Linked DNA regions of Homo sapiens: all the other regions are linked to region 4. Evidence: promoter capture Hi-C in human tissues and cell types (Jung and others, 2019). All regions are on one chromosome and are shown on one strand. Each heading gives the region's core, a stretch centred on a gene start or on the middle of the fragment in contact. The rest is flanking DNA. Distances are from core to core; before and after follow the strand shown.

What was found. Contacts are between HindIII fragments. The study calls those that stand out against the background at their distance.
Region 1: a fragment that was not itself captured here is called in contact with the fragment with the promoter of ERLIN2 in region 4 in 2 of the 25 tissues and cell types used here (IMR-90 fibroblasts and dorsolateral prefrontal cortex).
Region 2: a fragment that was not itself captured here is called in contact with the fragment with the promoter of ERLIN2 in region 4 in 1 of the 25 tissues and cell types used here (IMR-90 fibroblasts).
Region 3: a fragment that was not itself captured here is called in contact with the fragment with the promoter of ERLIN2 in region 4 in 1 of the 25 tissues and cell types used here (IMR-90 fibroblasts).

The regions. Positions count from the first base shown.
Region 1 is chr8:36,891,674-36,895,682 of GRCh38, forward strand. The region is part of intron 19 of KCNU1 (potassium calcium-activated channel subfamily U member 1); the gene reads left to right. All of the region lies in intron 2 of LOC105379375 (a long non-coding RNA gene), which reads right to left. Among named protein-coding and RNA genes, the nearest start is that of KCNU1, 110 kb to the left of the region's middle. The HindIII fragment of the contact is 6,473 bases long and covers 1-4,009 here.
Region 2 is chr8:37,094,406-37,098,771 of GRCh38, forward strand. It overlaps the pseudogene SMARCE1P4. Among named protein-coding and RNA genes, the nearest start is that of KCNU1, 310 kb to the left of the region's middle. The HindIII fragment of the contact is 3,893 bases long and covers 1,061-4,366 here.
Region 3 is chr8:37,062,082-37,066,209 of GRCh38, forward strand. LOC105379377 (a long non-coding RNA gene) reads right to left here. Exons shown (of 7, transcript XR_949675.4): 7 at 3,718-4,128. Among named protein-coding and RNA genes, the nearest start is that of KCNU1, 280 kb to the left of the region's middle. The HindIII fragment of the contact is 4,005 bases long and covers 651-4,128 here.
Region 4 is chr8:37,734,106-37,738,337 of GRCh38, forward strand. ERLIN2 (ER lipid raft associated 2) reads left to right here and starts at 2,529. Exons shown (of 12, transcript NM_007175.8): 1 at 2,529-2,573; 2 at 3,803-3,924. The coding sequence starts at 3,818. LOC102723701 (a long non-coding RNA gene) reads right to left here and starts at 3,321. Exons shown (of 2, transcript NR_125821.1): 1 at 3,274-3,321; 2 at 656-2,693. RefSeq lists enhancers at 2,402-2,611, 3,091-3,883. The HindIII fragment of the contact is 16,352 bases long and covers 1-4,232 here.

The sequences.
Region 1 (4,009 bases), core at 261-2,760, 840 kb before region 4:
CTTCATCTGAAAATGTCTCCATTTCTTCATCATTTTTGAATAATACTTTGTTGGATATAGAATTCTTAACTGATAAGCCTTTTTTTTGAGAACTTTATATATGTTCTTCCACTGCCTTCTGGCTTTCATGGTTTCTGATGAGAAATTAGCTGTTAATCTTATTAAGGATCCCTTGTAGATGCTGAGTTGCTTTTTACTTGCTGCTTTCAAGATTCCTCTTTGCCCTTGGCTCTGAACAATTTGATTATGGTATATCCAGGTCTGAATCTCTTTGAGATTACTCTACTTTAAACTTCCTTTAGCTGCTTAGATATGTAAGTTAATGTTTTCATTAAATATGTAAAATTTGTGTCCATTATCTAAGTACTCTTTCTTCTTTCTCTCTCTCCCCCATTTCTGAAACTCCCATTTTGTGTATGTTGATACACTTGATGATGTCCCACAGTTTTCTGAAGCTTCTGTGTATATTTCTTCAATAGGTTTTTATTTCTATTTTTCTGACTGCATTATCTCCATTGACTTATATTCAAGCTCATTTATTCCTTCTTCTGCCAACTCAGATCTGCTGCTGAGCTCCTTCACTAAAATTTTCTTTTCAGTTATTGTACTTCTTAACTCCAGAATTTCCATTTGTTTTTTTCTTATAATCTATCTCCTCACTGATATTTTGTATTCAGTGCTATATTGTTCTCATACTTTTCTTTAGTTCTTTAAAAATGGTTTCAGTTAGTCCTTTAAATATATTTATAATGGCTCTTATAAAATCTTTGCCTAGAAAGTCTGGGCTTCCTTCCGGACAGTTTCTATTGGTGTTCCCACCCCCCACCCCCCACCAGGTATGGTCCATACTTACTGTGTCTTTGTGTCTCATAATTTTTTGTTGAAAGCCAGGCATTTTAAATAATATTATATGACAACTCTACAAACTATTTTGCTATGGTTTATTGTATATTGACACTTAAATCTCTACTCAGCTTTATGATCAGCTAATGATTGCACTGAGATTTCCTTAAATGCCTTGAACTGATAAGTCTTCTTATATTTGCCAAGGGATTCTGTGTGCATGTTGAGGTAATTCCTTTGACACTTTAGCAGTTTACATCTTTGCCTAAGCCTTCATTTTTGGTTTGTGCAGTCTCAAGATCAGCCAGAAGAGATTAGGAATACCTCAGGTTTTTTTTCCCCTGGGTGTATTTACAACTCTGCACATGCACATGGTTTTATTTTTATTCAGTTTCCTACAGTGAATGTTTCAAAACCTTTTAATACCCTCTATAGAAGTCTGTTATTTTCTTTTGTTTTATTTGAGACAGAGTCTTGCTTTGTCACCCAGGACAGCATGCAGTGGCATGATCTCAGCTCACTGCAACATCTGCCTCCTGGGATCAAGCAATTCTCCTGACTCAGCCTCTCAAGTAGCTGTTATTACAGGTGTGAGCCACCATGCCTAGCTACTTTTTGTTTTTTTTTGTTTTTTTTTTGTAAAGATGAGGTTTCGCCATGTTGCCCAGGTTAGTCTTGAACTCCTGGCCTCTGGTGATCCACCTGCTTCAGCCTCCCAAAGTGCTGGGATTACAGGCATGAGCCACCACATCTGGCCCTCTCTATAGACTTCTAATTCTCCAGCTTTTTCTTTTGAAGATTTTTATGGGTCTTTTTTTTTTTTGCGACATTGTTAACTATAACTCAGATATTTGCAATTTAAAAAAATTACTGCTGATTATTTTTTTAAAATGCCTCCGGAAAAATTCCACTGAGAAAACTCCCAGGCCAAATAAAGATAAGCCCTGTGAGTGTGCACTTCCAGGGAGCTGCTAGAAAGCTCAAATAGTAACATATTCTGTGAATAAGGATATTTAACAGCTTCAGATCTATTTTTTCTCTCTGGTGGCTGCTAGACTGCTGGTTTTCAGAGCTACTGTTATTGTAAGGCTTCTGATCTTGATGGCTACTGTTGAACTAAAGATAGTGGAATGGGAATAGCACTTCTCAAAAATGCCATGAAGCTTATTGTTCTTACCAAGATCTCACCATTTTTCTTAAACAAATACTCCTCATATTGTTTCAAGTCTCCAGTTTATTTCCAGAACTCTGAAGATGTTGATTTTGATAATTTTTTTGTCAATATTCTCATTGCTTGTGTAGAATAGTGAATATTCAAAGGCCCTAACTCTGCCATTCTGGAAGAATGTCCCTTGTAGTTACTTTTTATAGTTATTTTTCATCTTCCTATTAAACTTGTAATGGTCCCTTAACCTGGTTTAAGACCATCTCTTTGCAGCAACGCCTTCCTTCATCTCTAACTTGACACTTTTAATCTGCAAGCCAAAAATCCAAAAATGTTAGAAATATAGATAATTCATGAAAAAATTTTCGATTAACAAATGCCACTGAGTATTTGTGATATCTTTGGTCTATGCAAATGCTATTTTAAAATGATGTCAGGCTGCTTTCTAGATTAGAAGTCAAAATCCACTTCACTACCTGTTTTTATATGGTTTGCCATACAAAAGCATTGTGCTTAATTTCAATGAAAGTATACTGTGGTAAAAGACTACAATATATGTTGATATTATCAAACTTGGCACTTATCACAATATTCTCAATTCATGGTAAAGCCATGGTTAGAAAAATTATAAAATTTTAAAAGAACATCTTAGCACAGCAGAATTTGTAATCAAAGTTTGTTTCTGAGTGACTCACTTGTTAGCCAAGCAAGAGAAGTCATTTACTAATGGTGAATCAATTAAATTGTGTTTGATTGCAGCAGATGAAAAAATGTATCCAGACAAAATAAAACTACCTAGTACTATTAACCTTTCAGCAAAAATCACTGCTGGAAGAATTGAAGACATCAGAAGCAATATCAATATCACTTAAAAATGAGGAAAATAGTTGTGAGTGGTTTCTCTCAGCTTTTAATATGTTAACATATGTTACTGATACAGCTTAGTTATTATTTATTCAAGGAGTCAAGGCAGAGTCTGAAGTACCTAAATGGCCTCTGTGAATAGTCTGCATGGCACAACTACCTGTGAAAATATATTCAAAGAAGTTGAGAAAATATTAATTCAGTATAATCTGAAGCGGAATCTGCTAAGATGTATTACAGATGATACAAAAATACATGTAGACCAGAAACAGTCCTAGTTAGACAAATTTACAAAGTTCGTAAAATGTAAAATGCATAAAGACTATAGTCCTTATTGTGTTATCCATCAGAAAGTATTTTGTGAATAATATATTAATTTATCATGAGTTATTGAACCAGAAGTGTCAATGGTGAATTTTATTAGCTCTCATGAACTTTGCCATTGTTAGTTCCATAAAGTTTTGTAAGAAATAAAATCTGAATATCCTGACTTACCCTACTACACATCAGTTTAAGAACTTAACAATAGTAAAGTTTTTTGTGATTTTTTTTTTTTGGAAACAGAATCTCACTCTGTCACCCAGACAGAGTGGGTGCAGTGGCACAATCTCAGCTCACTGCCCCCCCAGTTCAAGTGAGTCTTCTGCCTCAGACTTCCAAGTAACTGGGATTACAGGCACTGACCACCACGCCCAGCTAATTTTTATATTTTTAGTAGAGATGGGGTTTCACCATGTTGTCCAGGCTGGTCTCAAACACCTGGCCTTAAGTAATCTGCCCCCCTCAGCCTCCCAAAGTGCTGGGATTGCAAGCATGAGCCACTGTACCTGGCCTTTTGTGTTATTTTAAAAACCTGGATCAAGATTAAAATGTTTCTGAATAAGAAGAACTGTGCTGTCAACCACTATTTCCGAACACTAAATGACTTCAAAACTTATTATTCACTGCAGGTTTCATCATCTCTATTAACAAATTTAAACTTGAAAGTCAAAGCAGAGCTAACATGTGAAACTTATACTATCATAATTACAATGACAATTATCAATCTTTGAATCACAATTAATGTCATTCTTCTTTATATACTTCCCATGCTGTCAAAAGTTAAAATAAAAAATGAGATTACTATTTCCACACAAA
Region 2 (4,366 bases), core at 1,757-4,256, 640 kb before region 4:
GATGTAGAAGCTGCAGCAAGTCATCCAGAAGATCTAGTGAAGATCATTAATGAAGGTGGCTACACTAAACAACACATTTTTAATGTAGATGAAAGAGCCTTCTATTGGAAGAAGATACCTTCTAGGACATTCACAGCTAAAGAGGAGCAGTCTATGTCTGGTTTCAAGTTTCAAAGGGCAGCCTGACTCTCTTGTTAGGAGCAAATGCAGCTGGGGACTTTAAGTTGAAGCCAATGCTTACTTCCCATTATGAAAACCCTAGGGCCCTTAAAAATTATGCTAAATCTACTCTGCCTGTGCTCCAGTAATGGAACGACAAAGCCTGGATGACAGCACATCTGCTTATCACATGTTTTACTGAATATTTTAAGCCCACTGTTGAGAGCTACTTCTCAAAAAAAAAAATTCTTTTCAAAATTACTGCCCATTAACAATGCAGCTGGTAACCTAAGAGCTCTGGTAAAGATGTACAAAGAGATGAATGCTGTTTTCCTGCCTGCTAACAAAGAATCCATTCAACAGCCCCTAGATCAAGGAGTAATTTTGACTTTTGAGTCTTATTATTTAATAAATATATTTCGTAAGTCTATAGGTGCCCTAGGAATTGATTCCTCTGATGGGCCTGGGCAAAGTGAATTGAAAATTTTGTGGAAAGGATTCACAATTCTAGATGCCATTAAGAACACTCATGGCGCAGGACAAAGGGAAGTGAAGCCGGAACTGCAGCCACTTTTTCTGCCCGTGGAAAGACCGTCTTATGCTCCACCTCTCACCCCAGCTCCTGCAACACAAATGCCCAGCACACCAGGGTTTGTGAGATACAATCCATACAGTCATCTCACCTACAACAACTACAGGCTTGAAGGGAACCCAGGCACCAACAGCCAGGTCACAGCATCCTCTGCTATTACCATACCAAAACCCCCAAAGCCACCAGATAAGCCGCTGATGCCCTACGTGAGGTACAGGCAGAAAGGTCTGGGACCAAGTAAAGACTTCCAACCCTGACTTAAAGTTGTGGGAGATTGGCAAGATTATTGGTGGCATGTGGTGAGATCTCACTGGTGAAGAAAAGCAAGAATATTTAAATGAATACGAAGCAGAAAAGACAGAATACAATGAATCTATGAAGGCCTATCATAAATCCCCCATATACCTTGCTTACATAAATGCAAAAAGTCGTGCAGAAGCTGCTTTAGAGGAAGAAAGTTGACAGAGACAGTCTTGCGTGGAGAAAGGAGAACCGTACATGAACATTTAGCCTCCTGAAGATCCAGATGATTATGACGATGGCTTTTCAATGAAGCATACAGCCACCGCCCATTTCCAGAGAAACCACTGCCTCATCAGTGAAATCCTTAGTGAGAGTGTGGTGCCAGACGTTCGGTCAGTTGTCACAACAGCTAGAATGTGGATCATCAAATGACAGGTCCAGTCCTTAATTATTCATCAGCGAAAACTAGAAGCTGAACTTCTTCAGATAGAGGAAATGACACCAGGAGAAGAGGAGGAAATACTTGGAAAGCACAGATTCATTTAATGATGAACTTAAAAGTTTGTGTGGTCTGAAAGTAGAAGTGGATATGAAGAAAATTGCAGGTGAGATTGCACAGGCAGAGGAACAGGCCCGCAAAAGGCAGGAGAAAAGGGAGAAGGAGGCAGCAGAGCAAGCTGAGCACAGAGCAGCATTGTTCCTAAGGAAAAGCAAGCAGCCAGCAAAGGCGAGGAGAAGAAAGATGACAAGAACATTCCAATGGAGATGGAGGAGGCACGCTTTGAAGAAATGACAGAGAGCCAACAGAACAGTGAAGAAGGCACGTCTACTCCTGAGGACAAGGAGAGTGGGCAGGAGTGGGTAGACAGTATGGCAGAGGAAGGAACCAGTGATAGTAACATTGGATCGGACAGCAACAGCACAATAGTGCAGGAGCCACCAAAAGATCCCATACCAGAAGATGAGAAAAAAAGAGTAAATCTTGCCTTGTTTTATGTGTTGTAAATAGTTTTTTAAATGAAAAAATGTTTTTGATTAAAAAAAAAAGAACATTCATGATTAATGGGAGGAGGTCAAAATATTCTCATTAACAGGAGTCTGGAAGAAGTTGATTCCAGTCCTCATGGATGACATTGAGAGGTTCAAGGCTTCAACGGAAGAAGTCACTACCGATGTGGTGGAAACAGCAAGAGAACTAGAAGTGGAGCCTAACTCAGTGAGACATGATGGAATTGTTGCAATCTCATGATAAAACTTGAACAGATGATTAATTTATGGATGAGCAAAGAAAGCGGTTTCTTGAGATGAGATCTACTCCTGGTGAAGATGCTACGAACATTATTGAAAAGACAAACAATTCAGAATATTATATACACTTAGTTGATAAAACAGCAGCAGCGTTTGAGAAAATTGACTCCAATTTATAAGGAAGTTATACTGTGGGTTAAATGCTATCAAACAGCATGACATACTACAGAGAAATCTTTCCAGAAAATGAGAGTCAATTGGTGTGGCAAGCTTCATTGTTGTCTTATTTTAAGAAACTTAAAAATTGTAAGAAATTGTCACAGCCACCCCAACCTTCAGCAACCACCACCCTAAACAATTTGTGTGACTCAATTTATTGCAACATTTGCTTTATTATGGTGGTCTGGAACTGAAGCCACAATATCTCTGAGGTATGCCTGTAATTCCACCTGCAATGAGCCTATTTCCAAATAAAGTAACCTCTGAGGTACTGAGGATTAGAATTTTAACATATCTTTGGCAGGAGGGAGGAAACAATTCAACTCTTAACACTACGTCTCCCGACAATTTCAACTTTGGCCCCTGGGTTGAACACCTGCCTCCTGAGGATCAGGGTAGTCAGCAAACATCCAGAGTGTAGATTAGCTGTGGCACTAGGAATCTCGGCAAAAGATTTGGGATGGTACCCAGCACCTGCTCTCAAAAGCTCATCCCTCCATGATGCGCTGGGGAGGAGACTCTTTCCCAAGACCCAGCTGGGTATGCAATGCTACAAACGTCTCTGCTGCATTTCTTTTCTGGGTTGGTACTTTTTCTAAGAGAGAGAGAGAGAGAGAGAGAGTGCATGTAAAACAGAGAGAGAGAGAAAGGAGAGAGAGAGAATCATTGTGCCTTTGTGTTTGTATATGTGACTGCGTGTGGATGTATGCGTGCCTCGGCCTGTGTGCCTCTGTGTGTGACTCTATGGGTGTGACAGTATGCAACTGTGTCATAACACTGTGTATTTACATCTGTGAGTACATGTGTCTGTGAGTGTGTGATAGAATCTGTGACTATGGATACAGGTTTGTGCAGGCACGTGTATGTCTGTCAGTATTTACACACGTTTATAGTACAGGCACAGAAGCTGTTGAAATGCTCAATGCTATATTGAGCAAATTGAAGAAGGAACAGGTATGGATTGTCTGGGACTGTGAGCCCCAAAGAGAAGCTTCATCTCTCCAGAATCCATTGGTGTTCACACTCACTTCTCATTAGGAGAGAGCAACCCCAATGGCCTTGCCCTTACCCAGAAGCTGAAAAGACAACAGCAGAACTTCTGCAAAAGGCCAGATCTTCTAAACTCACAGCCAGCACAATCATTTGGAACAATCTGGTAGCAGGAAAAATAAGTCATAGATAAGTTAGGCAGATGCCTCCAACTAACCAAGATAATCCAGAAACTCCCTCATTAAATCTGGCTCACAGGAAAGTGAAAGAGAAGAATGACTGTCCTACATTCATCAAAATGCACATGAAACAAAAAGATAATGTATGAGAAGGTGCTTGAAAAAGGTGAAAGTACTACACAGAAGCAGAATATTGTTTGAAAGCTGAACACCCAATCTTTATTGAGATGGCCTGTAGAGGGGAAGAAGCAGGGTGCTCCGCTGAGGCTACTCTGGAAAAGAGGATGACATCCTGGGACGTAACCCTATAGCACCAGCCAGAGTGTGGAGGCAAGGTGGCCTGGGTAGCCTGGGCCAGCACCCCTAGCCTTCTCACCAGTTTCGTAGAGACCTCCTCCTATCAGCTCTTAGCCATAGAGTAAGAGCCACAGCGTGCTCTACAGCTTTGCTCTAAACATTTTCAACCCATGGAGCCAATAGGGAGGTCATGGTCATGATGAACGAAGCACAAGGTTGTCAACTACAGAAGAATGGTAACAACATTTTGATAGACTACATAGCAAGCATTGGTCACAAAACTCATTTGATCCTCACATCAACTTACAAGGTAGAATGACTGTCATTCCCCTTTTACAGATGAGAAAACAGACACACAGAGCAATCGGGTAACTAACTCAGGGTCCACAGCTGGTAAGTAGCAAGGAAAGCACTTCCACAGAGATTAGTTATATTGTAA
Region 3 (4,128 bases), core at 1,403-3,902, 670 kb before region 4:
GTGCCTTGGTTTTACGGCATCTGTGAGAAGAACTAGGGGACCTTCTTATAAGCCATGGAATATGGAAGGGAAGTAATAAGTAACTTTCATGAATTGAGTACCTTTCATGTGGCAAGCTCTGTTCTTAATACCTTATGTGCTTTACTTTGTTTTATTCTCAAGGAAATTGTATGAGATCTTAACTCCTTTGAGGCTCAGAGTCAATGTTTGATCCATGTTTATTTATCTGTGTGCTCTGTGCCAGTATAATGCCATCCTTCCAGCTTGAGTGACACAGCTAGAAAGTGTGCTTGAGAGAGTCCAGTGTCACCGTGTCCTAGAAATGAGACCTCTAACAAGTCACCTTGATCTCTATCTACATCAGTTCCTCAGCAAATAATGAGGATAATAGCAATGACCAGTATCCTACTTCATGAGATGGCTTTGAGAATCAAATGAAATACTTTAAATAAAATGTTCAGTGAATCATAAAATATTATGCAAATATTAATCACTAGTATAATGGAATTTTGGCTTCTGTTTTAATTTATGTGAAGACACAAGAAACTTATGAACTATGTATAAGTTAAGCATTTGCAAGTCTACAGAATAGAATCAAAAACTAACTCAGTCCTGATCACAGTGCAAATACAATAGATTCCATGTCTGGGTAATTTAACGTCGTTTTTATGTTTAACTCTTTTAAACTGTTTCTTATCATCCTGAATAAATTTATAAAAAATATAAACGCTGACCAGGCACAATTGGCTCATGCCTGTAATCCCAGCACTTTGGGAGGCTGAGGCAGGAGGATCACTTAAAGTCAAGTATTTGAGATCAGCCTGGGTAACATAGCAAGACCCTGTCTCTACCAAAAAAAAAATTTTTTTAATTAGCCAAGCATGGTGGCATATGCCTGTAGTCCCAGCTACTCGAGAGGCTGAGGGAGGAGGATCACTTGAGGCCAGGAGGTCAAGGCTGCAGTGAGCTATAATCATGCCACTGCACTCCAGCCTGGGTGACAGAGCAAGACCCTGTCTCTAAAAACAAAACAAAAAACCCCGCAAAGTTGTAATCTACCTAAACACATAATTTTAAAAGTCATGTAGCACTCTATTTTTAATCATATAATGGGGAAATTCAAGGAGAGGGTTGCAATATGTCGATACTCAAGCATGACTTCCCTGGGAGGCAGCAGTACCCAAATACCTTCTCCTCTGTGTGCAGCCACCAGGAATGTACCAGCCACAAATGAACACTGATGCTGATATATTTATTGTGATTTAAAATAACACAGTCGCATCTCTGTTAGTGATATATTTTCTAAAATAATGAACAACTCTTGGAGAAGTGCCATATGATGCCATCCTTCCAGCTTGAGTGACACAGCAAGAATGTGTGATTGAGCAGAGAGTCCAGTGTCACCACGTCCTAGAGATGAGATCTCTAGCAAGTCACTTTGATATCTATTTATATCCATTCCTTAGCATCTGTGTGCTTTGTACCAATATAATGCCATCCTATTTTCTGTCAATTTACAGAATTGATGCTTTACTGAAAGGTTCAGGGAGTATTCAGACAGTGCAAAAATGTTTTTGAATTTACACACAATATAGATTTAGGCTTAGATTATTCCAAATAGGTCTTTCACCCAACTGTATGTCCAGTGAAACATTTGAAAATTACATGTGAAATGGGATAACTTTTTGATGTATGGAACTGACCAGTGTATTGCAAGACGTCTGCTCCCCTTGGCCCCACCTACTAAATGCCAATTACAATGATGGGTGAAATCCCACCTCCCCTAGGAGTGGCAGCTCTTCTCCATCTTGTCCCACATTGAGAACCACTGCTTTATCAGCTTTCTTGTGCTTCAGTTCTCACCCTTCTGTCTGAGCTCACCTTCTTTCCCCAGTATCCAGGATCTCTCTCTCTCCTTTTTTCTTTTTTATTCTCTATCTCTTATAATTCGGCATTTCAACATAACAAAACTTATATTTCTCTCTTAACTTCTTTATGCTAGCCTGGCACACTTGGTCCTCTGAATTATTTTGCTTCCAACTCAGCCTGGGTTGAATCCTGAAGGAGTCAGCAAGGCTTAGAAAAATTTCTTGGAACCAGAAACTCATGTGGAAGTCATTTAGTTTAACCCTCCTTTTCTACATGATCAAACTGAAGCTTAAATATGTGCAGTGACTTGCCTGGGGTCCCACAACAAGTAAGTGGTAGTTTCAAAACAGGAACCTGAGTGTCTTCCACTATCCTTATACCTAGCTCTCTCTTGCTCAATAAGCCAATAAACCAAGCAACAAACCCTTATTAATGTCAAATGTAAGGCACTTTGTTAGGAATGCCTTACACTTCCTGAATTTAAGTACAATTGGAAAGATAAGAAATGGCAATAAAACAATGATTCCATTTAACAAAGTGTATGTCTTGTATTCCAGTTTTGCACAAGACTTTGTGCTACATGTTTCAGGAGATACAATGAACGGCAGCAGCTTCAGCCTACTCTTCCTCTAGAGCACATGGTCTGGTAATGAGATAAGACCTTATTATAATGCAAGGTAGAACCAAACACAGCCGACACTTGAGCAACATGAGTTTGAACTGTGCAAGTTCACTTATACAGAGATTTCTTTCTACCTCTGCCCTGCCCCCAGATGACAAGACCAACCCCTCCGCTTCATCCTCTTCCTCAGCCTACTCAATGTGAAGACTATGAGGATTTTTGTGTATGGTGTGAGATAGGGGTTCAGTTTCATTCTTTTGTATATTGGTATCTAGTTTTCTTAACAACATTTGTTGAAGAGACTATCCTCTCCCCATTATGTATTTTTTGGCATCTTTGGATGCATGGGTTTATTTCTGGGTTGTCTATTCTGTTCCAATGGTATATACATCTGTCTTTATGCAAGTACTGTACTTTTTATTATGTCTTTGTAATATAATTTGAAGTCAGGAAGTGTGATGCCTTCAGCTTTGTTCTTCTTTTTCAAGATTGGTTATTCAGGGTCCTTTTGATTCCATAGGAATTTAAGAATATTTTTTCTATTTCTTAAAAAGTGCCTTTGGGATTTTGATAGAGATTGTGTTGAATATGTAGATCATTTTGGGTAGTATGGACATTTTTACAATATTAATTCCTCCAATCCAGGTACATAGGATTTGTATCTTCTCATTTATTTGTATCTTTTTAAATTTCCTTCATGAATGCTTTGTAAGCTTCAGTATATAAGTCCTTTACTTCTTTGGTTAAGTTAATTTCTAAGTATTTTATTTATTTATTTATTTTGTTGCTAATGTAAATGGGACTGTTTTCCTGTGGAGAAAAGAGAACCCTTATACACTGCTGATGAGAATGTAAATTAGTAAAACCATTATGGAAAATGGTATGAAGGTTCTCCAAAAACTTAAAAATAGAACTAACATGATCCAGCAATCCTAGTTCTTGGTATCTAAAGCAATCGAAATCAGGATTGTGAAGAGTTCTCTGCACTATCATGTTCATTACAGGATTATTCACAAAGCTAAGCTATGGAAATGGCCTAAATGTTTTTCAACAGATGAATGGATAAAGAAAATGTGGTGTGTGTGTGTGGGTGTGTGTGTGCGCGCGCGCATGTGTGTGTATAACAGAATACTATTAAAAAAGAAGGAAATCCTGCTGTTAGCCACAACATGATGAAGCTGGAAGACATTATGCTAGGTGAAACAAACAAGACACAGAAACAGAAATCCTGCATGATCTCATTTATATGTGAAATTGAAAATAGTCAAATTTATAGAAGCAGATAGTAGGATAGTGGTTTCCAGGGCCTGGTCAAGGAAGAAATAGGGTGATACTGGCCAAAAGATACAAAGATTCAGTTATGAAATATGAATAATTTCTAGAGACCTTATGTACAGCATGGTCATGTTAATTAACAAAACTGTATTGTATACTAGTAATTTGCTGAGAGGACACATCTTAAATCTTCTCACTACACACACACACACACACACACACGCACATAAACAATTGCAACTATGCAGAGGTAATGGATATGTTTAATTAGCTTGATTGTGGTGATAATTTAATAACGTATACTAAAACATCAAGTTGCACATCTTAAATGTATACATTTTTGTATGTCGATGATTTCTTAA
Region 4 (4,232 bases), core at 1,279-3,778:
CAGGATTTAAACAAGGCAGCCTGACTGTGAAGTATCTGAGCTAAATCACTACTCTATACTGTGAGGTTTTTTAAAAAATAAAATTTTAGCCGGGCGCAGTGGCTCACGCCTGTAATCCCAGCACTTTGGGAGCCCAAGGCACGTGGATCACTTGAGGTCAGGAGTTCAATACCAGCCTGACCAACGTGGTGAAACCCCATCTCTACTAAAAATACAAAAATTAGCCAGTCGTGGTGGCATGCGTCTGTAGCCCCAGCTACTCGGGAGGCTGAGGCAGGAGAATCGCTTGAAGGGAGGCAAAGGTTGCAGAGCTGAGATCGCGCCACTGCAGTCCAGCCTGGGTGACAGAGCGAGACAGGAAGGAAGGAAGGAAGGAAGGAAGGAAGGAAGGAAGGAAGGAAGGAAGGAAGGAGAAAAAGAAATTGTAAACATTTTTGTTAAACAAATCATCACAAATGTATCTGCTGGGTAACATAAAAATCACAGGTCTCTTAAGAAAGAGATTTTCAGAAGTACTAGATCATCATGTACTAGCACATCACGAAGTCCATCCCCCTGCCTTTAGGCACGTCCACAACTAAATAACTCAGGTCTGGTAAAATGACTCCTAAGAACAAAATCCCAAAACTTCTAGCCACAATTCACTCCAAAGTTTAATGTGAGGAAATTTTTGTGTTTTTATTATTTTTAATTGACACATAATAATATACATATTTGTGGGAAGGGGAGGGGAGACGGGTTGCCAGAGGTTGGTTAAAGGAAATTCTTAAATTACAAGTAATTTAAATACTTGATGCTGCAGGCTAGCCCCCATTTCATGGGTTGATGAACCCTAATATTTCCATTTTTCTTACTCAATTATTAAATAAACTATTAAATAAGCATGCCCAGCTGAGGTTATATCACTGAACAGGGAGAGAAAAAACTCAAGTTCTGATAGGATTGATCGAGAGATTGGCCAGCTGTGTCTGTTTGGGGTGGGGGATGCAGGGACAGAGTAGGGAGATGAAAGGCCTTCATTTATGGAGATGGGCACAGAGCTCCCAGACAGCACCATGTAACCCTCGTATGGGTTTCACCATGTAATGCTGAAACATCCCAACACCCAGAGCAAACGCAGGAAAGGTAAACGGGCCAATCCCAAGCAGGCATGCCTGGAAAAAACCACACTTCCCTTTTCCTGAGTCTTAAATCTGTCTAACACCACCAGCTTGCCATCTTCCCGGTGTAAAAGTTTTTCTTTTACTGAAGGCTATAATTAAGTGGACTCTTTCTCTCCTGCAAACAAAATATTAATAACCTCAGTGGCTGAATTAGAAATGCCCCAATGTGATGCTGGTGAATAGGGCAGGTGGAGGACAACGTGAGGCCCTTAGACTAGGAGACACAAACTCTGGATTCCGGGCCTGGTCCCACGTTGCCTTCAGTCTGTTTTTACTGGGCACCTAAGCCCCGGGGGTGCGGAAGGAAAGTCAGTCTCTGCTCTCCCGGGAACGTACAGTTTATCTAGAAAGACGAAGTGCACTAGCCCCTGTGCACTGTGGCAGGAGTTTAAAAAGCAGTGAACTCAAGATATTAAGGAAACACAAAGGAAACTTTCCTTGGCTTTTACCCTTGAACCTCGCTGAACTTCTTAGATTCCGTTCATTAAAATTAGAATAATAATTCCTTGTTAATATACTTTGTGGCGTTGCAGGATCCCAAGGGCCAAAGCTCCCAGAAAAATATAAAGAACAACTCAAGGTAGGGATTTTTGATTGGTGAGGTAATGATGCTAATCTGTACATTGAAAAGACTGTTTCATTTCAGCTGTGCTATAGGAAAGCAAACAGTTGCAACTCGCCAGTACCTTATCAAGGAGAGAAAAAAAAAAAGGCCGCGCATGGTGGCTCATGCCTGTAATCCCAGCAGTTTGGGAGGCCGAGGCAGGAGGATTGCTTGAAGCCAGAGTTTGAGACCAGAAATACCAAGACCCTGTCTTTACTAAAAATAAAATTGTCAAGTGTCGTGGCGTGCGCCTGTGGTCCCAGCTACTCAGCAGGGTGAGGTGGGAGGATCGCTTAAGCCCAGGAGTTCGAGGCTGTAGTGAGCTATGATCGTGCCACTGCACTCCAGCCTGGGCAAAAGAGCGAGACCTTGTCTCTAAAAAAACCAAAACGAACCAGGTTCGGCCTAATGCAGAAGGAAATCCGGAGCAATCCCCAAAGTCAACGCCTTGGAAAGGTTCGCCCTGGGTCTCAGTACTCCGGGGCATGCGCGTCCTGCCGCTCGCTCTCGGGGAGCTCCCACCAACACCGCCCTCATCCCCAGCCCCAGGACGGATACCCAAGACCGAGGTCCAGGACCGCACCGACCAAGTCGCGGGCGATCCCTGGCGGCCAGCTACGGCCATTGACCGCTGGGAGCGCGAGGGGCGGGGCGCAGAGCGAGCGCGGGGCGGGGGTGTGGTCTTCTCGCGTGAATTGATGGCGTCATCGAAGCGACGGCCCGGAAGGAAGTCGCGTGCTGAGGGGTGTGACGGTTTTCTTGCTCGTGGGCTCGGACGAGTACGGAGCGCCTGCAGGGACAGCCTGGTACGCGGCCCCCGCCCCTTCGTGCGCGCGCTGGGCCTAGCTGCCGCTCAGGGTCGGGGCTGACCCGTCACTTTCGGGAACCTCAGTCCCAGCAGCTTCTCTCCCTCAGCCGGCCCGCTCCTGGAGAGAGACAGAAACCCTTTTCTGTCGCGTCCTCTCCTTGCGAGCCGCAGGGGGACCGAGCGGAGGCTATTGGAGCCGCAGCCCCAGACCAGGGCGCTTGACCCTCTCTCGGAACGGGGCGGGGAAGGGGCGCGAGTGACCTCGGGGAGGGAAGGGCACTGGCAGGAAAGGACGCAACTGCAGATCGGTAGCCGGAGGCCGCCACGGTAAAATAAGCGCCTCGCAGATGTCCGCGCCCCGGTTACGTTAGACCTGGGAGGCAGAATCCACGCCCTGCGCTCACGGGCCCACGCACGCACAGCTGAACTTTGCAGTCAGTCACCATAGTTCCAGATCATTCAGCGTTCAGGATCCCACTCCTCCGCGTCCTGGTGCCTGAACGCGGTTGGACCTAGGAGCCTAGAGGCTCGCAGTTTGGGACATTGCCTTTCTCTCTGACCACGGGCTTGGGGATCTGTCAGGTGCAAAGTGCCAAAGTATATGGGGGGGAGTGTGGCTTCAGGCTTGTTCAGAGCCCTGTCCTGTTTAGGGCCAAAGGAATAACTGGGAAGGTGGATGCGAGGCCAACGAATCCTACCTTGAAACTCTGCTCGCCTGCTGGCTCTGCCACTCCAGCATCTGAAAGGAGTAAATAATGGTTTCCTTTGAAACTGCAGGCAATTAGGAGTGGGAGACTCTGACCAGAATTACATAGCCACAACTGCCTGTCATTTGGCATCCTCTGTAATTTGGGCCAAAGTACTGCAGCTGCCTCTCTTCCCTACTACTGGTAGGAAAGGTTCAGTGACAGCACATTCGTGTTCACAGGAAGACAAGGCTGTGTTCTGAACCCTACCCAGCTGGCACGGGTTCTCCCTTGAGCAACGGCTGTATCCGGAGCCAGTGCTTCCTCAGTGCGGTGGGGGCTCTAATTTTACAGTTAAAGAAAGGGGAACGTTGACTGAGAACGAGGAGGAAGCGAGTTGTAGATCTAGCCTTGTGTTCACACGACACCAGGCTGGATATGAGTCACTCGCAGGGAGCTCAGCTTGGTGAGGTCCTCTCGCTGTTGTGGCCTTTTCTCCTGCACGTTGGACCACACACATTTTCCCGTGTCTTTTCCCTAGGATAAAGGCTCACTGATGGCTCAGTTGGGAGCAGTTGTGGCTGTGGCTTCCAGTTTCTTTTGTGCATCTCTCTTCTCAGCTGTGCACAAGATAGAAGAGGGACATATTGGGGTATATTACAGGTAAGGCAGAGACAGGGAGAAGCCGGCAACTTCCTGTTAAATAGCTCCCTTTCCTGGTCATTGCTTTCCTAGCAGATTCTGCTGAACATCTCTATTTATATTTCCTTGAATAGGGGAGCCTTTTCAGATGGAGCTTTTTATGTCAGTAACCACGGGAAAGAGAATACACACACACACATATATATGTAAATTTAGAACTTCACTTAGTAGTCCAAGATGATGCCATGGGTGGTGATTAATAAATGTGTATATAGATTTAGAGACAAAATCTAAAGGAAACTGGTGCTCCTCATTGATCATCCCTAAAA